2 separate regions of the Homo sapiens genome follow, and region 1 is linked to region 2. The links are contacts of gene promoters, found by promoter capture Hi-C in human tissues and cell types (Jung and others, 2019). All regions are on one chromosome and are shown on one strand. Each heading gives the region's core, a stretch centred on a gene start or on the middle of the fragment in contact. The rest is flanking DNA. Distances are from core to core; before and after follow the strand shown.

What was found. Contacts are between HindIII fragments. The study calls those that stand out against the background at their distance.
Region 1: a contact is called between a fragment that was not itself captured here and the fragment with the promoter of C21orf91 in region 2, in 2 of the 25 tissues and cell types used here (dorsolateral prefrontal cortex and hippocampus).

Annotation. Positions count from the first base shown.
Region 1 is chr21:17,389,292-17,393,255 of GRCh38, forward strand. No RefSeq gene overlaps it. Among named protein-coding and RNA genes, the nearest start is that of LINC01549, 48 kb to the right of the region's middle. The HindIII fragment of the contact is 3,165 bases long and covers 86-3,250 here.
Region 2 is chr21:17,816,278-17,820,659 of GRCh38, forward strand. C21orf91 (chromosome 21 open reading frame 91) reads right to left here and starts at 3,079. Exons shown (of 5, transcript NM_001100420.2): 1 at 3,026-3,079; 2 at 1,915-2,048. The coding sequence starts at 2,041. All of the region lies in intron 2 of LOC124900465 (a long non-coding RNA gene), which reads left to right. RefSeq lists a silencer at 2,694-3,473 and an enhancer at 3,724-3,773. The HindIII fragment of the contact is 15,791 bases long and covers 1-4,382 here.

The sequences.
Region 1 (3,964 bases), core at 418-2,917, 430 kb before region 2:
AATCCAAGAATAAAAAAATACAAATCAAAGGTTCAGTTTGAAAAAAAATTATCATCCAAGAAATAATCATTTCCTTTTTATATTAAAAAATGTTCTCTTTATTCTCATTTCCCAATATAATAATATTTTAGTGTTAGCCTGGAGTCTGTGCCAAATGATTACACAGTATGTCTACTTCCTGACCCATAGGGAGTTAATCTTCGATAAAAAACAAGCTCAGGTAATGAAAGATCTTCCTGTTAATTGCAAGTGATAGGAAACACACACACACATTTCTCTTACTCCTTCCTGAAACCCCACTAAAATAACAAAAATGATGTGAAAGGGCATAATTCCACAAAAATGAGGAGAACAGAAAAGGTGATTATAGAAGATGATTACTGTACACCAAAAAAAGATGATTATTGTACACAAAATGAAAAGCTTATAACCTTTGGTAAATGGCTTTGGACTCATATATCTCTGCTCTGCTGAGTACCTGAAAAAGAAAAAAACAACTAGAAGAAAGTTGATTCATGAACTCAGAAAACTTCTATCAATAGAGGAACCAGGGGCCTCTGAAGGTGTTAAGTTTGCAAGTAGGGCTGAAAACAGAAGAATTTGTTAAAAGTCTGAAAAAGGAGGTAACAGACTCTTCAGTCTCCTCCCACCGTCCATGCAGGCAGGTGACTACATGTCACAAAAGATGGTAGGTTTCTTATTAATAACATAGACGTTCATTGGATAACATAGATGTTCAATCAGTCTATTTTCAGAAGAGTGAGATTTCTAGTTCCCTTCTGGTAGTAGGCCCTCAGAACAATGACTGTTAGACTTATACTCCATCATAGGAGATAATGAAAATGTCCTTTAGGGAAACTGTCTAGCCCTATGAATACCGACAGCCAAGAATCCCCCAAGACAGCCAGCTCCTGCCTGAGCTCTCTACAGTAAAACCTGACACACTTGATAAGCTTCACAGGAACATGGGACTTCTTTTTTTTTTTTTTTTTTTTTTTTTTTTGATGGAGTCTCACTCTGTCTCCCAGGCTGGTGTGCAGTGGCGCAATCTCAGCTCACTGCAAGCTCCGCCTCCCGGGTTCACGCCATTCTCCTGCCTCAGCCTCCCCAGTAGCTGAGACTACAGGTGCCCGCCACCAAGCCCAGCTAATTTTTTGTATTTTTAGTAGAGACAGGGTTTCACCATGTTAGCCAGGATGGTCTCGATCTCCTGACCTCGTGATCCGCCCACCTCGGCCTCCCAAAGTGCTGGGATTACAGGAGTGAGCCACCGCGCCCTGCCTGAATATGGAACTTCTAATCAGGATTTACTGCCACTCTTTATAAAAAATAATTTATTTTAAAATAACTTACATAAAAACTTTCAGATCAGAACAAAGAATTCTTGTATCCCTTTCATTCAGATTGTCCAAACATTAACATTTTTCTGAATATGCATGGACACCAACCCCGTCTCTCTGTGTATATGTAGGGAGAGGAAGTGATCCATTATCATTAGTCATACTCTGAACTTTTTAAGAGAAAGCTTCAGACACGATGTCCCATTATCCCTAAATAATCCAGTGTGTATTTCCCCAAAACAAGAAAACTCTCCCATTCAAATTTTGCCAACTGTCCAAAACTCTCTCTTTTTCCTTTCTGGTTCAGGATTGTTCCAAGGAATATATGTTGCATGTAGTTCTTATGTCTCATCATATTCATTCAGCTTAAAACAATAATTCTGCCTTTGATGTCCTTAACCATTTTTAAAGAGTAAAAGCGGCCTGGTGCAGTGGCTCATGCCTGTAATCCCAGAACTTTGGGAGGCTAAGGCGGGCGGATCACGAGCTCAAGTGATCGAGACCATCCTGGCCAACACGGTGAAACCCCATCTCTACTAAAAATACAAAAAAACTAGCTGGGTGTGGTGGGGCGTGCCTGTAGTCCCAGCTACTCAGGAGGCTGAGGCATGAGAATCCCTTGAGCCGATGAGGCAGAGGTTGCAGTGAGCCGAGATCGTGCCACTGCACTCCAACCTGGTGACAGAGCGAGACTCCATCTCAAAAAAATAAAATTGAATTAAAATAAAGAGTAAAAGCTTCATATTCCATGTAATGACCATCACAGTGTTTCTCGGGAGCAGACACAGGACAGGTATCCTTCACAGGAATATTACGGAAACTATGCTATGCTTTTCCCACTGTATCTCATCAGGATGTACAAACTTAGCAAAGAAAACACACACACACACACACACACACACACACACACACACACACACAAAATATTAAGCCTGAGAAGTATAAGTACAAGGAAAGTACAAGAAAGGAAATGAAGCCAGAGTTTACTACGATAAAGAACTGGGAATGGTCTGAGACTTCATCTTATTTGCAAGCCAACAAGTTAGCCTGCCATAGTTTCATGGATGCTGGGGAAAGACCTGAGACTCCCAGGTCAGAGGCAAAGGATTTTATTACTCACAAAACAGTAAGCAATATGAGCTTTATGGTCACTCTGGTTCCCCTTGCCCTCCAGTTCCCATGGTGGTGACAAAGAGTATCCAAGGCAGATGCTGCATATGCAGTGGGTTTGTATCACAGCTAAAAAACCCTGAGCTTGGGGAACCTCAGTCTTTTATAATGGGTTGAAAGCAAACCTACATGACTTTTGGCCCCGTGGAAGACATTATCTTTACCATACTGGATAGCAAACACACCTGTCATCTGCTCTGGAGGGAGATGCTGTCTCTATAGTCCAAGGCTATTCACTATATTTATATCCTGGAAATCGCAGTCTGGAACAAAACCTGTCACTACCTGTGCCCTTAAAATGTGCAGAAATATAAATGACCCATGAAGAATTGTTGTCCAACCACTGCGTGACTCATCTCTGAAAATAATTACACATAAAACAATAAGGTAAACTCTAGATGTTGACTTACCCAAAAAATTGTGACTAAATATATTGGCAAAGGGGAGAAATGGGAGGAGTATGTTGGGGAAGGTAGACAGGCATAAAACATAATAAATTTTATATTCTATACTAGGAAATAAATAGATGACATCTAAAACAGAAAATCAAAAAATAGAAGTAAAAGTGTATTACTTTTAAAATGTAGGAAAATAAATAAAAGTGTTAAGTGTGGTATTGCCTCTTAGGTATAGTTTTGTTTTCATGAAATGGGAAAGGTGGAACAAGCAAGCCCTTTTTTTCAGCATAAGCTATTTGACCTTTTTAACTATACACAAGATTATCTTCATAAAAATTAAAATACAAAGCCAGGCATGGTGGTGCACACCTGTAGTCCCAGCTACTTGGCAGGCTGAGGCAGGAGGATCACTTGATCCCAGGAGTTCAAGACCAACCTAGACAACATAGAAGGCCCCTTCTCTAAAGTAAAATAAAATAAGCCTGGGCATGGTGGCTCACACCTGTAATCCCAGCACTTTGGGAGGCCAAGGCAGAAGGATTGCTTGAGCCCAGGAGTTCAAGACCAGCCTGGGCAACACAGTGAGACCCTGTCTCTACAAAAAAAAATTTTTAAAGGCCAGGCATGGTGACTCACGCCTGTAATCCCACCACTTTGGGAGGTCAAGGCCGGCAGATCACTTCAGGTCAAGAGTTCGAGACCAGCCTGGCCAACATGGTGAAACCCCGTCTCTACTAAAAATACAAAAATTAGCCAGGTGTGGTCGTGCACACCTATAATCCCAGCTACTCAGAAGACTGGGGCAGGAGAATCACTTGAACCAGGAGGCAGAGGTTGCAGTGAGCTGAGATCACTCCACTTGCACTCCAGCCTGGGTGACAGAGCAAGATCCTGTCTCAAGATCCTTTTAAGGCTCCATCTCAAAAAAAAAAAAAAAAAAAAAATTAGCCAGGCATGGTAGCACCCTTCTGTAATCCCAGCTACTCAGGGGGCTGAAATGGGAGGAACGCTTGATCCCAGGAGGTAGAGACTGCAGTGAGCCATGATCGCACCACT
Region 2 (4,382 bases), core at 1,829-4,328:
AGGTAATATTTGTATATTCTCTATATAATGACTGAGAACCAGTTAAAAGGCTTATTTTAAAAAGCTAGAAAAGCAATTACGAAAATTTAGGGTTCTGTGGAAAAATTCGATCATGGCATGAACTCCATTAATGATGATTTGCCAGCAAACACTGGTTAGAAAAAGCTGGCTGAGAGAATAGCAAGGATAACCAATTAGGATTAGAACATCAGCCCTATTGCTATAAAATAACTATTGACAGTAGATCAATGGTATTAAGATCACATATACTAGAACCAGACTGCCAGGCTTTAAAGTCCAGGACCAACAGTTATGAGCTGTGTGACTTCAAACTGTATTTCTTAGGTCGCCAAGGTTCAGTTCTATCACATTTAAAATAGAAAATGACAGTAGTCATTCCAAAGCTATCTTGAGTTAAATAAGATAATCCACATAAGGGGTTTAGCACAGTGCCTGGCACATAACAACAGCTTGCCATCACCACTACAGCAACCCTGGGCAGTCCAACTTTTTGGCTGTTTCCTTAAATGTAAAATACAGGGTTTGGACTAGATAATTTCTAATGTCTTTACTCATCTAAAATTAAAATTCTACAATGTATCAACAATATACAAGCCAACTCTATTTCCAAAGAACATAAATTTGGATTTTCACCCCAGCATGATTTAAGTACTGTAAAAGAAACTTATTTTTAAGATATCCTTTTATTTTTATTTAATTTTTTAGAGATGGGGTCTTGCTATGTTGCCCAAACTGGACTTGAACTCCTAGGCTCAAGCAATCCTCTCACCTTAACCTCTGGAGTAGCTGAGATTGTAGGAACACACCACTGTTCCTGTTATGTCATCTTTTGAAATTAGCTATAATCACTACATTTATTAAAGCTGAAGTTATAGATATTCTATGTAATCCACAAGAAATCCATAATCTTCCATCACATACTGTTTGGTGACCATAATAATTTCTGAATAACAAGTCCTAACAGGAATTTCAAGGTATATAATCCCCCACTATATTTTTTTAAACAATAAGAACATTTCATACCCCATACTTAGTAAACAGAAAATAAAGATCATGAAAAATTTCAAATATATAATACAGAAAAAAGGAAAGAACTATTTTGAAACTGTCCAAAATCTAGAGGTTTAATAAAGTCTCTCTACTGATATGTTACAACTCAAAACTCAAATTACAGGCCAAATTTTTTTTGCAGGAATATTAAGGTTTTTTTTAGTATGACTCATAAATATCTAAACCAAAAATCAATTGTAATATGACAACACTAACTGCACCAACCCAAATAAATCCTTCCAATAGGGCTTTTTTTTGGGGTTTCTTTTTGGATTTGGAGAATTTTTCTTCATATATCTTAGGGACATTATTAAAAAAATTTTAAAAACCTTTTCAGGTTTTAAAAATTACCAACAGTGTGTGTGATCACTGAAAAGAGGTTAATCTAAAAATTTTAAAGTATTTTTCCAGATAATAAGATCATACTGGTGAGAAAAGAGTTCGGGCTCATCTCACTCAAATACTTGCATAATAGGCTCGAAAGAATAAAAAAATTGTTATGTTACTTCTTAATATAAAAAACACACAGGTCTGTTAAAATCTGACAATTCAATAAGCTCTCAAACCAGAAAACACGTTTCCCAGTCAACACTCATACTTATTTCTGTATTAGGAAAAATGGGGTTGTTGCAGGGGTCTTTAAAAAAAAAAGATTTCTCTTAAATTCGTAACTCTGTTAACTGCACCTTCATTTCCAGAAACCTTATCTTTAACAAATCTCTACACTATTCATACTTAGCACAATTTCCAATCATTGAAGACATTTTAGTTTTACCTTACAATCAGTACAAAGCAGCTGTGTTAAATTCATTCCATAAGATCAAAACTATACTGTGTCCTTACCCTCAATATTTAGCTCAAAACAAATGTGGCAGAAGGAGAGTGTTTCTTTGTCTGTTCCCAGTTTACAAACACTGCAAATGTTGTCATCATTCAAATCAATGTTTACAAACTGCTCCTCTTCGTTCATAGTGCCCCTATTAAGAAACAGAAAAGGAAAGTTACACAATTTCATGAACCTGCCTTTGGGGTAGTTCCCTTTACTGGGAACTTCTAGGAAATAAGGATGCTGTTCAGCTCATTTAAAGCAAAAGCTCCATCAAACAAGCATCGCCATACTTGCACTCCAACATTGCACTTTTCCTGTGGAAAGACACAAAGCTAGTAAAACTTAAAGCCAGGCCATAGGTGACACTATGTCCGTGTCTTTTTTGTCCTATAGTTGATTGGGTTAGTGGCACCTGAAGGAAAGAGATTTGCCGGCATTCTAGTCCTCCTCCTTCGTCCCCCAACCTCGAATAATCAGAGGGCTTAGCAGCGAGGCCTTTTCAGCTACCAGGTTCTGTCAACCTAGTTAACGCTGTGAGAAACAGGAAAAACGACCTGCACGGGACACTGCTTTGCTAACTTCATTGGGGGAACCTCAGATGCGCCTCGCGAACTCGGAGTTGCGAAGCTTCGCATCGAACGGAGATCGGCGGCAGCAAAATGCACGTGGGTACCGAATACCCGGGGAGGGCGTCCCGCCGTGTCCGGGGCAACTACACCGAAGGCCGAGCGGCGGCTTCACGGTACCGGCCGGGCACCGCCGGAGGGGCCCAAGCCGGAGCTGGGAGAGCCGCGGCATCCTGGAGCCCGGCGGGCGGGAGAGCCTCGTCCCATCGCTCCGGGATTCCTCCCAGAGGGAAGAAAGCGTCCGAGGGCCACGGCGGCCGGTCCGCCCAGCCTCAGCGTCTCGGGGAGCCGGGTCCTGGCCCGGCCTTCGGCGTTGGGGGCGCGCGGCCGCCCCCAGGGAGTCGCGGACCCAAGTCCGTCTTTCCGTCGGTCTGTCCGTCGGGGCGCCTGGCGCGCAGCAGCGCGAGGGGCCACGGGGCTCGGAACTCGAAGGAGGCGGAACGATGGGACTGGGGGTCGGGGCTCAGGTGGGATGGGAGCAGGGCTGCGGGGTCTTTACCGTCCGGCTCCGCGGGCCACCACCGCCGTTCCGTGCGGCTCGGGTTCCTCCACTATTGTTTCCGGCCGCAGCAGAGGCGGCCGCCGCGCGCCTGGCCCCGCCCTCTCCCGCCGGCTCCATCCCGTAAAGGCTGCGGGGAGGGTGGCGCGGCCGCGGGCACACCTGCGCGCTCGCCGGGCTGCTGTGGGTCCGCCCCTCCGCTCCTGCACCGACGCCGCACCTTCGCCTCGAGTTCTCCTGTGATCCCGTGTTTCCTGGCCGGAGTTTCTTACCGTTCTCTGGAACGTAGCTCCTCACACACCCCTCCTCGAGGTGCGTAGATAGACGAATCCGTTCCACCTCTCCCTTCAGCCTAGTGCAAACTACTGCCCCGGGGCGGGGGCCGCAGGCGGCGGGGGTAGGAAAGCCGCGGGTGGATGGCAGAACGGGAGAGGTGCGTGGGTGGCACTTTGACTTCAGGAGAAAGAAGCAGAATACTGTCACTGAACTTATAGTTAAGTGCCAGTTGAAGTATCTAACGAAGGAAAAGTTCATATTCAGGTGTCATGATAGAGGCATAATTTCAAATACAGAATCTTTTCAAATACATTATTTGTTGTGGGGCGCCCCTGCCCCCAATATGGTACATCCCTCAACGCCCACGGGAAAAATCCCGAAGCCCCACCTCTTATTTTTAGGTCCTGCTTGGTTCTCAAATTCTTTGCTTGACTTTTGTTTAAGCTATTCTGTTTTTTTTAGGGTATGGTTCTTGCAGTACTTTCACTTACATTTTCCATTGTAGTCCTCACAGTAACCTACAGAGGAGAAACAGGAACTGTTCTCTCATGTTGCAGCCTACGAGTAATTGACCCAGGTTATCACAGTTGGTTAGAAAAAGGCTGGGACTTGAACCGAAGGCTACTGACCTAAGATCAATGTTATTTTCTACAGCATCATATGTATGTGTTCTGGTTGCACTCACATAGAAAGAGGGCTAGCCTGTCAATCTACATGTAGGCATTCTTGAACTGATGGTTAGGAATGGACTGTCTAGATCTTGGAAACTTCTGGGCCAAATTAGCACTCCAGTTATGGCATTTGTGCCTCGCAGGAGCGATCTGTGTCCTTGCCACCTAAATTGTAGTAGATGAACAAACAACATTGACATTACTTGGTTTCCTGTTAGAAATGTAGAATCTCAGGCCCCACTCGAGATTTCCTAAATCAATACTTGCACTTTAACAAGACCGCCAGGAGATTCCTATGTTCATCGAAGTTTGAGATGCACTAATTGAAATGAAAAGCCTGTGCTTTTTCTCTTCGAATTTCTCATTCTAGGTAACTACGACTAAGATACCTTGCATGTTGGATTCTACCC